Linked DNA regions of Homo sapiens: region 1 is linked to region 2. The links are contacts of gene promoters, found by promoter capture Hi-C in human tissues and cell types (Jung and others, 2019). All regions are on one chromosome and are shown on one strand. The core of a region is centred on a gene start or on the middle of the fragment in contact, and the rest is flanking DNA. Distances in the headings are between cores, read along the strand shown.

Evidence for each region. Contacts are between HindIII fragments. The study calls those that stand out against the background at their distance.
Region 1: a fragment that was not itself captured here is called in contact with the fragment with the promoter of MUC4 in region 2 in 1 of the 25 tissues and cell types used here (ovary).

The regions. Positions count from the first base shown.
Region 1 is chr3:195,424,374-195,431,052 of GRCh38, forward strand. All of the region lies in intron 1 of ACAP2 (ArfGAP with coiled-coil, ankyrin repeat and PH domains 2), which reads right to left. Among named protein-coding and RNA genes, the nearest start is that of ACAP2, 15 kb to the right of the region's middle. The HindIII fragment of the contact is 5,776 bases long and covers 1,751-6,679 here.
Region 2 is chr3:195,810,110-195,817,035 of GRCh38, forward strand. It overlaps MUC4 (mucin 4, cell surface associated), which reads right to left and starts at 1,820. Exons shown (of 25, transcript NM_018406.7): 1 at 1,627-1,820. The coding sequence starts at 1,708. It overlaps LOC124905352 (vegetative cell wall protein gp1-like), which reads left to right and starts at 5,596. Exons shown (of 3, transcript XM_047449429.1): 1 at 5,596-6,926. The coding sequence starts at 5,606. RefSeq lists enhancers at 1-80, 6,321-6,926. The HindIII fragment of the contact is 26,053 bases long and covers 1-6,926 here.

The DNA of each region.
Region 1 (6,679 bases), core at 3,389-5,888, 380 kb before region 2:
AACCTCCACCTCCCTGGTTCAAGGAATTCCCCTGCCTCAGCCTCCCAAGTAGCTGGGATTACAGGCGCCTGCCCACCATGTCCAGCTAATTTTTTTTGTATTTTCAGTAGAGACGGGGTTTCACCATGTTGGCCAGTCTGGTCTTGAACTCCTGACCTCAGACAATCCGCCTGCTTCGGCCTCCCAAAGTGCTGGGATTACAGGTGTGAGCCACCGCGCCCGGCCAGTTTTGACTACTTTTTAGTCAACTAAAAAAATTTTAAGACCAGGTGCGGTGGTTCACGCCTATAATCCCACCTGGGGAGGCCAAGATGGGAGGATAGCTTCAGCCCAGGAGTTCAAGACCAGCCTGGGCAACACAGTGAGATTTCGTCTCTACAAAAAATTTAAAAAATTAGCTGGGCACAGTGACACACACCTGCAGTCCCAGCTATTCAAGAGGCTGTGGTGAGAGGATCATTTGAGCCAAGAGGTCAAGGCTGCAGTAAGCCATGATTGTGCCACTGCACTCCAGCCTGAGTGATAGAGTGAGACCCTGTCTTAAAAAAAAAAAAAAAAAAAAAAAAAAAAAGGTTTTAAGAGTTGATTGCTTGCAGTGAGCTGAGATCGCGCCACTGCACTCCAGCCTGGGCGACAGAGCGAGACTCCGTCTCAAAAAAAAAAAAAAAAAAAAAAAAAAAAGAGTTGATTGAGGTAGCAGGATATCAAACACATTTTTTAAATTTGCTATACAACTAAAAGTATCATCTGAATAGTTAAGTGTGTCAAAATGTTTGTGAAATTAAATATAACATTTCCTTAGAGCCCTCATATAAAAATACCCTGGTAGCTTAGACTAGTCAGAGTCTCTCAAGAATTATGACAACTACCCATCAAGACTTAACGATTCTGGACTGACTTAGTTACTACATTGTAAAAGGAAATTTAAATAAGACCCCAGGTGTCATATATTACTTATCGTTTTGCAATTCATCAATTGTACAATAACAGAAAAATTCCTCAAATAAAAATTATAGTATGTTATGTGAAAATGGAGAATGTATAACTATTTTAAGAAAGTACTTATTGGTAGTAAAAGCCTGTTGCCTATCTACTGTGTGCAAGAAATCGTGCTCAAGAACAAAGGAATAAAAAGACATGGTGGTCTGTGTCCCAAAAAGTTTACCATCTAAAAGTGAATATAGGATGGGATCACATCAGTTTTTAAAGTAAATTACACAAGGCTGCACAGCAATGCCAGCCCTATTTAACAACTCTACCTCAGTGTCTACTAGGTGTCTCAAACTTAACATGTAAAAAATATAACTCTTGACTTTTTTCCAAAAAAAACCTATTCTTCCCTTGTCTTCCTCTTTATCAATAAACAGAATCTCCATCCACCCAGCTGCTAAAGCCAAAAATGCGATTTTTTTATTCTTCTAATTCCCTATAAAAAAATTCAACATCAACTCTTCTTGATGCTATGAAAAAATGTTCTCAACTATCTCCCAAGTTGTCTCTCACCTGGCCCAGCCTGATAACTAGTTTCCTACAATGGCTTCCTGCGTGGTCTCTTTGCATTCACTCTTCCCCCATACAGCCCATTATCAAACAGTACTCAAAATATTTTTAAAACATAAACCTTATCTCCCACCACTGCTAAAAGCTTTCTAATTGCTTCCTATTGCACTAACCATAACATCCAAACTCATCACTACAGATGAATTATAATGCCTAACATGACCTCATCCTTGCCTACCTCTGATCTTAATTCTTAACCATCCCTTCCTCTTGCACACCCTGCTCCAACCCTATCGGCCTTCCTTCCGTTCCTTGAAGATCAAGCTCCTTTCTCCCTGAGGCTTTAATCTACAAGCTTCTCCCCACAACCACCACCACCTGCTATCCACCCTTTCCTACCCATGACTCCAGTGGTCAAACCTTGCATTCCCAACAGGAAGACAGGCAAACATCCTGGGTTTCCAGGTGGAGATGACACAATGCATCATCACCAATGAGTATTCGTGCCAAAAAAGTTTAAACTGTATCTGTCCCAAGGAAACAATCAGAAAAATTCAGGAAGGGGGCCATTCTAAAAGATAATTAGTCTAAACTCTTCAGAAAAGCAAGTAACCTAAGAGTGTTATCAAATTATCAATAATCTAGAGAAGCAGGGTATCAACACATCTAAAACAGGATTAAGCAGTATTATGTCACAACAACTTCACAGAATATACGATGCAGTCTTTTTTTAGCCATAAAACCTTCCTGGCTAGTTCTACTCTTCCCCTTTCTCACTACGGCAACTGAGTAGTCCAAAAAAGAAAAAAGAAAAAACTTCCTAACAATATTAAACATTTATACTATTAAATTAAAAATAGCAAAGCCACCAAAATTTGCACTATGATTATAAGGTCATATGTAAACCAATGAGCACAGATTAGATCTTTGGCAAGATTACAAATCAGTGTTGAGACTTTTGAGGATATTGGGATGGGGTGAATATGTTTTGCATGTGGAATAGAGGTGAATTTTGGGGAGCCAGGGGGTGGACTGTGGTAGACAAAATAATGCCCCCCGCCACCCGCCCCCACCAAGGATGTCAACATCCGAATCCTCAGAACCCGCAAATACGTTAGGTTACACGGCAAAGGGAAATTAAGGTTGCTATCATCTGACCTTGAGATTGGGAGATTATTCTGGAATGTCAGCCCAACATTATCACAAGGGTCCTTATCAGTAAAAGAGGAGGATAGAAGAGGGAGTATCACAACCACTGCTGGCTTTGGAGATGGAAAGGGGCCATGAGCCAAGGAATATGGGCAGCCCTTTGAAATTGGAGAAGGCAAGGTATAAAAAACTAAAATAAAGGATTCTTCCCTAGACCTTCCAGAAAAGAATGCAGCCCTGCCAACTGGCCTTTTATTTTAGCCCAGTGAGATCTGTATCAAAACTGTGATCTCCAGAACTGTAAAATCATTTTGTGTCGTTTTAGGCCACTAAGTTTGGGGTAATTTGCTATAACGGCAATAAAAAGCTAGTCATCCATCATTTAACAAAGGTGATACCTTCTCGGAGGTGCACTGTTAGATGACTTCTTCACTGGGCAAGCATCACAGACTACAAGCCACCTCGACGGTGTAGCCTATTACACACCTAAGGTACAAGGTATAGCCTATATGGTTCCTAGAATACAAACCTGTACAGTATATTACTTTACTGAATACTGTAGGCAATTGTTAACACAATGTTATTTGTGTATCTAAACATATCTAGGCCGGACGCAGTGGCTCACTCCTGTAATCCTAGCACTTTGAGAGGCTGAGGCAGGTGGACAGCCTGAGCTCAGGAGTTTGAGACCAGCCTGGGCAACATGGCAAAACCTCATCTCTACCAAAAATACAAAAAGTTAGCCAGATGTAGTGGTGTGCACCTGTGTTCCCTGATAGGAGGCTGAGGTGGAAGGATCACTTGAGCCTGGGAGGTGGAAGTTGCAGTGAGACAAGATAACACCACTGCACTCCAACTTGGGTGACAGAGTGAGACCCCATCTCAAAAAAAAGAAAAAACAGGTGCATTCAATTATATGTGCTTGTGTCTGTATGTATACATACACACACACAGATGCATATATATATATATACACACACACGTCTAAAAGATAATTAGTCTAAACTCTAGAAAAGTAACATAAAATTGTTACCAAATTATCAATAATCCAGAAAAGCAGGGTATCAACATGTCCAAAACAGGACTAAGCAGTATTATGTCATAACAACTTAATAGAATATATGACACAATCTGTTGTTGACTGGAATGTGACTGTATATATATACATACATGTATACATATATAGTCATAATTATATGTATGTATATATGCAGTCATATATATAGGTATATATATTATATAGATGTATATATACAGTCATACATAGGTATACATACATAGATATATATACACTCATATATATAGGTGTGTGTGTATATATATATACACACACACACACACTCATATATATAGGTCTATACATATATATACACACACAGTCATATTCCAATCAACAGACCACAAATACAACAGCGGTCCCATGGGATTATAATATCATATTTTTACTGTACCTTTTCTATGTTTAGATATGTTTAGATACACAAATGCCACTGTGTTAAAATTGCCTACAGTATTCAGTACAATAACAAGCTGTACAGGTTTGTATCCTAGGACCCAGAGGCTATATCATATACCCTAGATGTGTAGTAGGCTATACCATCTAAGTTGTGTAAATACACCCTATGATGTTTACATGACAAAATCATGATGCATTTCTCAGAAGATATTCTCGTCATTAAGTAACACATAACTGCAATTAAACACACACATGCAGGAATATATTATATACTCACACAATGGGTAATATCAAAAGGTGATATTACCAAATGCTAGCAAGAATGTGGAGCAACAGGAACACTCAAATATTGTTGGCAGATTTATAAACAGTACAATCGCTTTGGAATAATGCTTTGCAGTTTCTTATAAACACGTTTACCCCTTGACACAGCAATTCAACTCCTAGGTATTTATCTTAAGAGAAATGAAAACCTACCGTAAGAAAATTTGTATAAGAATGTTCGTAACAACTTTATTCACAATGATCAAACAATGGAAGCAATCTATCCATCATCAGGAGAATGAATACATTATGGTACATTCACAAAGAAATACTACACAGCAGTAAGAATGAACTAGTGACACTGGCCAGGTGCAGTGGCTCACACTTGTAATCCCAGCACTTTGGGAGGCTGAGGTGGGTGAATCACTTGAGGTCAGGAGTTCGAGACCAGCCTGGCCAACATGATAAAACCCCATCTCCGCTAAATATACAAAAATTAGTCGGGTGTGGTGGTGTGTGCCTGTAATCCCAGTTATCCAGGAGGCTGAGGCAGGAGAACAGCTTGAACCCAGGAGGCAGTGAGCTGAGATCGCACCACTGCACTCCAGCCTGGGCAAAAGAGCAAGACTCCATCTCAAAAAAAAAAAAAAAAAATGAACTAGTGACACACAGAAAAACATGGATCAATCTCATAGTTAAAATGCTAAGCAAAAGTACCAAAACGCTGAGAATAATAATTGACATACAAACCATAAGAATCTATTTATAATGTTCAACGATAGGCAAAACTAATCTAAAGTTCAAAAAAAGCAAAACAGTGGTTGTCTTTAGGTGGTGGGGGAAGCATTCTGGGAAGATGGAAAATAGGCTGTATCGTGACAGAGGTGTAGGTGACGGGTAGTGTACAATTGTGCATTTCAATGTATGCAAGTTTTTATCAAGAAAAAAACTATGAACACGAATTAATACTTTTTAATTTCTTTTCTTTGGGTGCTTCTACTTTAGGTTTCATATCTAAGAAACCATTGCCTAATTCAAGGTCACAAAAATTTAATCTTATGTTTTCTCCTAAGAGATTTATAGTTTTAGGTCTTCCATTTAGATCTATGATCCATTTTGGGAGAGTTCTTTTTGCCTATGGCACAAGGGAGAGTAAGTATAACAGAAACATAGATGAAACAAGAATTACACAACATTGGTATTTGCTTAAACTGGATAATGAGGGGTCATTAATATTATTCTGTTTAATTTGTATATGCTTGAAATTTTCTATAATCAAAAAATTAAGTGCAAAATGCCAGGAAAGCAACAAATTCAGGTTAGAAAGGAAGATGAAAAGGACAGGTCCAAAACAGTCCATGGATGACTGCCTAATGTTCTCTAATGATTTGTTTCTGCCAAGATGATCTGCCGGGATTTCTTATCTACAGATTATCAGGGAGGGAATTTACTTGATAAAGAAGAGACACAATCTTCTAATGTGATAAAGGACACAAAATAAATCCTACATAAGCTATGAAGCTTATTTGATGGATGTTTGATGCTATTAATTATTGTTACTTTTTTCTGATGTGATAATGGTGTGTAGTTACATAATTTTTTTAAAGTGTATATATTTTCAGAGACATACACATACATACTGATGGAATTCTATACTCTCTGAGATTTGCTTCAAAAATCATATGGGGAGGCCAGGAGCAGTGGCTCACACCTGTAATCCCAGCACTTTGGGAGGCCGAGGTAGGCAGATCACTTGAGGTCAGAAGTTCGAGACCATACCTGGCCAACATGGCGAAACCTCATCTGTACTAAAAATACAAAATTTAGCTAGGCATAGTGGTTCACGCCTATAATCCCAGCTACTCGGGAGGCTGAGGCAGGAGAATCACTTGAACCCGGGAGGCAGAGGTTGCAGTGAGCCGAGATTGCACCACTGCACTCCACCCTGGGTGACAGAGTGTGACCCTGTCTCAACTGAAAAAAAAAAAATCATATGGGGAAACAAGGGGCTGGGGTTTAAAGATCACCATGCATTGATAACTGTTAAGTCAAGGCGAAAGAAATATGGAGGCTCAACATGTATTTTCTATTCCACCTATGCGTTTGATTATAAATGTTCTACGCTTCAAACCTTTTTCAGTAACAGCTATATTGAAATATAATTCACAACATAAATTCACCATTTAAAAATATAGTTTAGTGGGTTTTAGTATATTTAGAGTTCTACAACCATTACCACTAACTCCAGAAAATCTTCATCACTCCCAAAAGAAACCCCATATCCGTTAGCAACCACTAATTGCATTTCCC
Region 2 (6,926 bases), core at 570-3,069:
GGTGGGGTGGGGGTGCTGGAGGGTGGGGAGGTGTAGGGAGGTGGTGGCAGTTTCCTTTGCCCTCAGCCTAGTCCTGAAACATCCCGAGGTGGAAGGGTCCGCTTCACCAGCATGGCTTCTCTTGCAGCCTTTAAACGGCACTCGCCTTCTGACTCACTCCCAGGAAGCTCCTCAAATATGCGCCCAAGAAATATTTTCCCTCGGCGACTGTTCTTAGCCTGCTGAGAGGCAGGGCAGGAGCTGAGACTCTAACCCCAGCTTGAACTCTGGACCCCAGACTCTCCCCCAAAGACTCAGACACCCAGAAACACAGAATAAAACTTGGTCCTGAAGCCAGAGGGACAGCCTGGAAAGTGTGGGGAAGAGGACGGGGGCCCCCGAGGGAACATCTCCCACAGGCCTGGCATCCCTCCCCTCCCAGCTCTGTACACGGAGGAGCCCAAGGCCAATGCCGGGGCTACGAGCCCCAGGCAAGGCCGTGACCCAAATGGAGGCTTTTAAACCCGAGCTCAGAGGTAAGAAGCCCACGGCCAGCACCTCCCGGCCCTCTGCGCCCTGGCCGCCTCCTCCGCACCACCCTCCCGGCCGGCCTGCCCCTCTCCTCCTTGTCGCTTCCCTTGCTTGCTGCTGTCTCCCGATCTTCTCCTCTCTCCATTCCCAGGGTCCTCAGTTTGTCTGCGTCTCACCTGTCTCGTCCTCTCACCCTGCAGCTTTACATGAGTTTTCTTCCGTCTCCATCACCCAGCTTTCCTGGCATCCCCTCTACCCCCAGCTCTGTACACAAGGGTGTACATCTTTCTCCTTGACTCTGTTCCTCTTGCTCTGGCTCTGCCTGTCTTTCTCTCTGCGAGTAAGCCTGGGCTCTCACCATGGATCCTTCCAGACATCGCCGGGCTGCTCTCTGGCCCTCTGTTCTCTTTTCTCTCTCTTTCGAGCATTCTCCCTCTGTCTTTCCCCTCAGATCTTGTCCCGTATCTGCCAGTTCATGCCTCCTCTTCCCCACTTTTCTCCTCTTCTTATTTTTTATTTTATTTTATATTTATTTATTTATTTATTTATTTATTTATTTATTTATTTATTTTGAGACAGAGTCTCGCTCTCTCTCCCAGGCTGGAGTGCAGTGGCGCGATCTTGGCTCACTGCAACCTCCACCTCCCAGGTTCAAGTGATTCTCCTGCCTCAGACTCCTGAGTAGCTGGAATTACAGGTGGGGCCCACCACGACCGGCTAATTTTTGTATATTTAGTAGAGACGGGGTTTCACCATGTCGGCCAGGCTGGTCTCGAACTCCTGACCTCAGGTGATCTCCTGCCTTGGCCTCCGAAAGTGCTGGGATTACAGGCATGAGCCACCGCGCACGGCCTCCACTCTTCTTTCTCTCTCCCTCTTCTCTTCCTCTTCTTTCCCTCTCTGGGTCTCTCTCCACCTTCCCCCCATGTTGTCCCATTCATCTCTTTCTCCTTTCCCTCTCCCTCTTTTTCTCTCCCTTCTCTTCCTCTTCGCTGTCTCCCTTTCCCCTATTCTCTCTCTCTCTCTCTCTGTCTCCCCGGACCTCTTTCTCTGACAGCTCCCACCTCCCCCAAGTGCTCCCCGCAGCCAGCCTCATCTGCTGTCTCCATCACTTACCTGGGACCACATGCGGAAGGAGGCAGAGACACAGGCAGCTCAGGGACACCCAGGGGACCCTCCTCCAGCGTGCCCCCTTCATGGCTGCGGCAAAAGTCCCCCTGGCTCCCTGGGGAAGCTCCACGGCCCAGCAGCTGCAGTGTGAGGAGCAGACGTGAGCCCGTCCCCTCAGGCGGCTGGCCCGAACCAAGTGCGTTTCTCCGAAGGGGCCAGGGAACCTGGGAAGAGGACAAAAGAGGGCGGGGCCCCACGCTAATCACCCTTTTCTCTCCTCAGCCCCACCCCACTACCCCACCAGGAAAGAAAACACCGATACACCCGTTGCTCTGCTTCTCATCAGCCTGAGCTGAGTGGCGGGAGGGATGGGAGGAGACATGGGGGAATGGGAACAGGTCACACTGGAAATGGGTGGGCCACCCTCCTAGCCGGGTTCCTGGGTCCTCTCCTCCCTCCCCAGGGGCTGCCCCTGTCCCACCAGAGCTTTGGGCTGCTGGGAAGAATGGGGAAGAAAGGGCCCCAGAGGGAGCGACCTTGGGGCTGTATGAATGGGGGAAAGAGAGTGAGACTTAAGCAGACCCCAAGGAATTGGGAAGCGGGGAACCATGTGGGTGAGGGGCAGGAACAGAAATGCACTGTATGCCGTCTTTTGGAAAGGGGTGGTGTGCTTGGAATATCTGCTCAGTGCAGGCGCGTGGCAGACCCCAGACGCGTGGCAGACCCCAGACGCGTGGCAGACCCCAGACGCGTGGCAGAACCTCAGTGCAGATGCGTGGCAGACCCCAGACGCACGGCAGATCCCAGACACATGGCAGACCCCAGACCCATGGCAGACTCCAGACGCGTGGCAGACCCCAGACGCGTGGCAGACTCCAGACGCATGGCAGAACCTCAGTGCAGACTCGTGGCAGAACCTCAGTGCAGACGCATGGCAGACCCCAGATGCGTGGCAGACCCTCACCAGATGGTGGACTTCTTCTTTCCAGGGCAGGGAGCTGGAGCCAGGGTGCAGGGAGCCAGGGACAGTCTGGGAGACTGGCCTGAGGGAGCTGGCATGGGCAGTGGGTTGAAGGCAGAACCTCGGTAGGAGGAAGCGACTGTAACCTGTGAGGAGGTGGAGCTGCTCCTGGAGACCTGGGGGCTCTGCTCACCCCAGTTCCACCTCTTGGAACTCACAGGCACAAGCGAGGAGGGAAAGGGACCCCAAGTAGGGTTGTAAAGACGAAGAGGGCAGTTGGTGTAGCTCTCTGCAAAGGAAAACGGGGATACCTCCGCTCCCCTCTTTGCCACAGTGTGAATCTCTGCTTCTGATTCCTCAAGACTTGATTCCCGAATGTGGGGTGTCTGTGGGGTGACTCGTCCCAGAGCAGGGACCTTCGATGCTCAGACACTGTGGGGCCCAGGACAAGGACTCAGGGTTTCTGCATTCCCAAGCAGAGCCAGCCTTGTCCAGCAAGGAGTAGGCAACCGACGCTGTGGCGCTGTCTCCGAGGGTCACGGAGGCCCTGTGACCACTTGCTTCTAGAAGCTGAAAGTCTGTTCATGGCCCCAGGCCAAAGCCTGGGCCACGCCATAATAATGCGGATACCGTGGGGAAGTGGCGTGGTCCCCCAACAGTCCCTCCAGCTCTGGGTGGACGAGCTGACCCTGTTCTTTCCTGGAGGTAAGAAAATCATAAAGGTAAAGAGTCATGTGGAGCATCCTGTGGGCGCCTGGACGGGGCAGCAGGAGGGACCTACTGCAGGGAATTCGCAGACACCAAGGCCCAGCTTGGCCTTCGTGATCATTTTGCACTTTTTTTTTTTTTTGAGATGGAGTCTTGCTCTGTCGCCCAGGCTGGAGTGCAGTGGCACCATCTCAGCTCACTGCAAGCTCCGCCTCCCGGGTTCACGCCATTCCCCTGCCTCAGCCTCCCTAGTAGCTGGGACTACAGGCACCTGCCACCACGCCCGGCTAATTTTTTTTGTATTTTTAGTAGGGACGAGGTTTCACCATGTTGGCCAGGTTGGTCTCGAACCCCTGAACTCAGATGATCCGCCCGCCTTGGCCTCCCAAAGTGCTGGGATTACAGGCGTGAGCCACTGCACCCGGCCCGTGGTCATTTTTCTGTCAGCTCTTGCTCGTGGGTCCCCCCATTACCTTTCCACAGGTTTTGTTTGGTGACGCTTTCAGGACAACAGTTTTCCATCTCTAGAGGAGAAAGGAGCATCCAGGTGAGACCAAACTAAGCGCTGGACATCTTGTTGACCGAACACAGGTAGCTGACCTCTTTCCCATGCCAGGAAGGCCAGAGGCACACAGCGCTCTCCGGAAGCTGCTGTGACGGCCGAGACTCCAGGAGGGCGTTACAAACCTGGGCTTGATCCCAGCTCTGCCACCGCGTCACCACAAAGTCACAGCCTCTTCGAGCTGTTTTCCTCGTTCACCTGTAAAATGGGGATAACACCTATCTGAAAGGTTGTAGGGTGGGAGTGAGCCTGTAGATGCTGAGGGGCTGCGGGAGTATTAGGACACCTGTTGTGAGGACACCTGTTGTTACGACACCTGTTGTGAGGACACCTGTTGTGGAGGACACCTGTGGAGGAACGTGGCTCCTCCTTCCATCCGGGCATCATCCCTGGAGGGAGACACAAACGAGGGCCAGCCAGGATACAGGAGGAGTCCGGAAGTGAATTTCCAGGCCCAGGTCTTTCCTGCGTCCCCTTTGAGTCTTATAGGATCCTGATTAGGAGCGTGAGATCCTGGAGAACTGGGCGTGCGCACTCCTGTTCACCTCTTCCCTGCCCACGCCCGTTTCCCTTCTGCTTTCCAGCTCCCCTCAATATGCCCATTTTCCAGAGTTAGGATGTGTCTGGGTCTCTGTGATAAATGGCTCTGTCTTCATCTGGGTTGGGTCACGGGACACCCATTTGTCCTTCCTTCTCTCCTCCCAAGGCATCCGATGGGGACAGAATGGGGTGAATGAGAGGGGACAAAATGAGTGGCTTCTCTAGTTCCTTGTGGCCGAAAAACCTCCTAGGCCCGCATACTGCTGGGTCTGCATAGGGGCAGGAGTCTGAAGTCAGGTGTAAGTTAATATTCCACGGGAGGCAGGAAGAGCTTAGTGTGGATGTGGGGTGTAAGTAAATTGGAGCAAGGATAAGATCATGAGATTCTCCCAGACTTGGCTTGAAGAGACAGCTGGGTTTGAGGCAGCAAAGCCAGGATCTCCAAGAGAGATTCCCCTTCTAAGCTACCCAAGTAGGAGTCCCTAGTTTTTTGGGTCCCCTAAAATTGCTTACCTTTATATCATTTATGCCTCGTGCTGTGAATAAAGTTCAATCTTGTCAGACTTAGGACAACTAGGCTGATCTCGAGCAGGAAGCTGGATGTTTATTAAGTCTGATTTACCTACTCAGTCTGGACTAAAAAGGTGTGTGGATTCCCTAGTCAGTGACCCAGCATGAAGCCGGTCACTAGAGTGCCAGGCCCTGAGCCTGTCCCCATGGCCCTGTGAAGTACAAAGCGCTGCCCTACCTCTCAAGTGAGCACGCTGAGGCTCCAGGAGCTTCATCATCCCCGAGTCACCGGCCAGGTCGGGCCATCTAGGGAAACTGGAGAGTGTTAACTCCGCAGTTACAGCCTTCTGGGCCACACACTGTCCCAAAGCTGGAATTTGAGCTCTGTTCTGCCTGGCTCCAAAGCAAAAGAAGGGCAATCACCTGGGCTGACCGCCCACGACATCCTTCGCTCCGGGTCCTTTCCCGGTGGCAGGTGGAGACGGCCTTTTGGAGGGGCCTCGCTGTCCAGCTGCAAGGATAGTGGTTAGTGGACAGCTCCCAGCTGCTGGCCCCTGCAGGGTGGGCCTTGCTTTTATGCTGAGCTCATGCTCTTCTCCAGGTGACCCTGTGGCCGATGACTAAGCAAAGTGGCATCACAGTGACCTCACCATTTCCACCCCACAAGACTCCGCCAACAGGCAGTCTGCCCCTCAGAGCGCCCCATGGGCAGGAGCTTTGTGGCTGTGTCAGCTGTGCCACATCCTCCTGCCCAGCCCGGCCTCCTTCTTCTTACACAGGTGCCACATCCTCCTGCCCAGCCCGGCCTCCTTCTCCTTACGCAGGTGCCACATCCTCCTGCCCAGCCCGGCCTCCTTCTCCTTACGCAGGTGCCACATCCTCCTGCCCAGCCCGGCCTCCTTCTCCTTACGCAGGTGCCACATCCTCCTGCCCAGCCCGGCCTCCTTCTCCTTACGCAGGTGCCACATCCTCCTGCCCAGCCCGGCCTCCTTCTCCCTACGCAGGTGCCACATCCTCCTGCCCAGCCCGGCCTCCTTCTCCTTACGCAGGTGCCACATCCTCCTGCCCAGCCCGGCCTCCTTCTCCTTACGCAGGTGCCACATCCTCCTGCCCAGCCCGGCCTCCTTCTCCTTACGCAGGTGCCACATCCTCCTGCCCAGCCCGGCCTCCTTCTCCTTACGCAGGTGCCACATCCTCCTGCCCAGCCCGGCCTCCTTCTCCTTACGCAGGTGCCACATCCTCCTGCCCAGCCCGGCCTCCTTCTCCTTACACAGGTGCCACATCCTCCTGCCCAGCCCGGCCTCCTTTTCCTTACACAGGTGCCACATCCTCCTGCTCAGCCCGGCCTCCGCCCTTCTCCTTACGCAGATGCCACATCCTCCTGCCCGGCCCGGCCTCCTTCTCCTTACCAGGTGCCACATCCTCCGCCCAGCCTGGCCTCCGCCCTTCTCCTTACCAGGTGCCACATCCTCCTGCTCAGCCTGGCCTCCGCCCTTCTCCTTACAAGGTGCCACATCCTCCTGCTCAGCCTGGCCTCCGCCGTTCTCCTTACCAGGTGCCACATCCTCCTGCCCAGCCTGGCCTCCGCCCTTCTCCTTACGAGGTGCCACATCCTCCTGCCCAGCCTGGCCTCCGCCCTTCTCCTTACGAGGTGCCACATCCTCCTGCCCAGCCTGGCCTCCGCCCTTCTCCTTACCAGGTGCCACATCCTCCTGCTCAGCCTGGCCTCCGCCCTTCTCCTTACCAGGTGCCACATCCTCCTGCCCGGCCCGGCCTCCTTCTCCTTACGCAGGTGCCACATCCTCCTGCCCGGCCTCCTTCTCCTTACCAGGTGCCACATCCTCCTGCCCAGCCCGGCCTCCTTCTCCTTACCAGGTGCCACATCCTCCTGCCCAGCCCGGCCTCCTTCTCCTTACGCAGGTGCCACATCCTCCTGCCCGGCCCGGCCTCCTTCTCCTTACACAGATGCCACATCCTCCTGCCCGGCCCGGCCTCCTTCTCCTTACCAGGTGCCACATCCTTCTG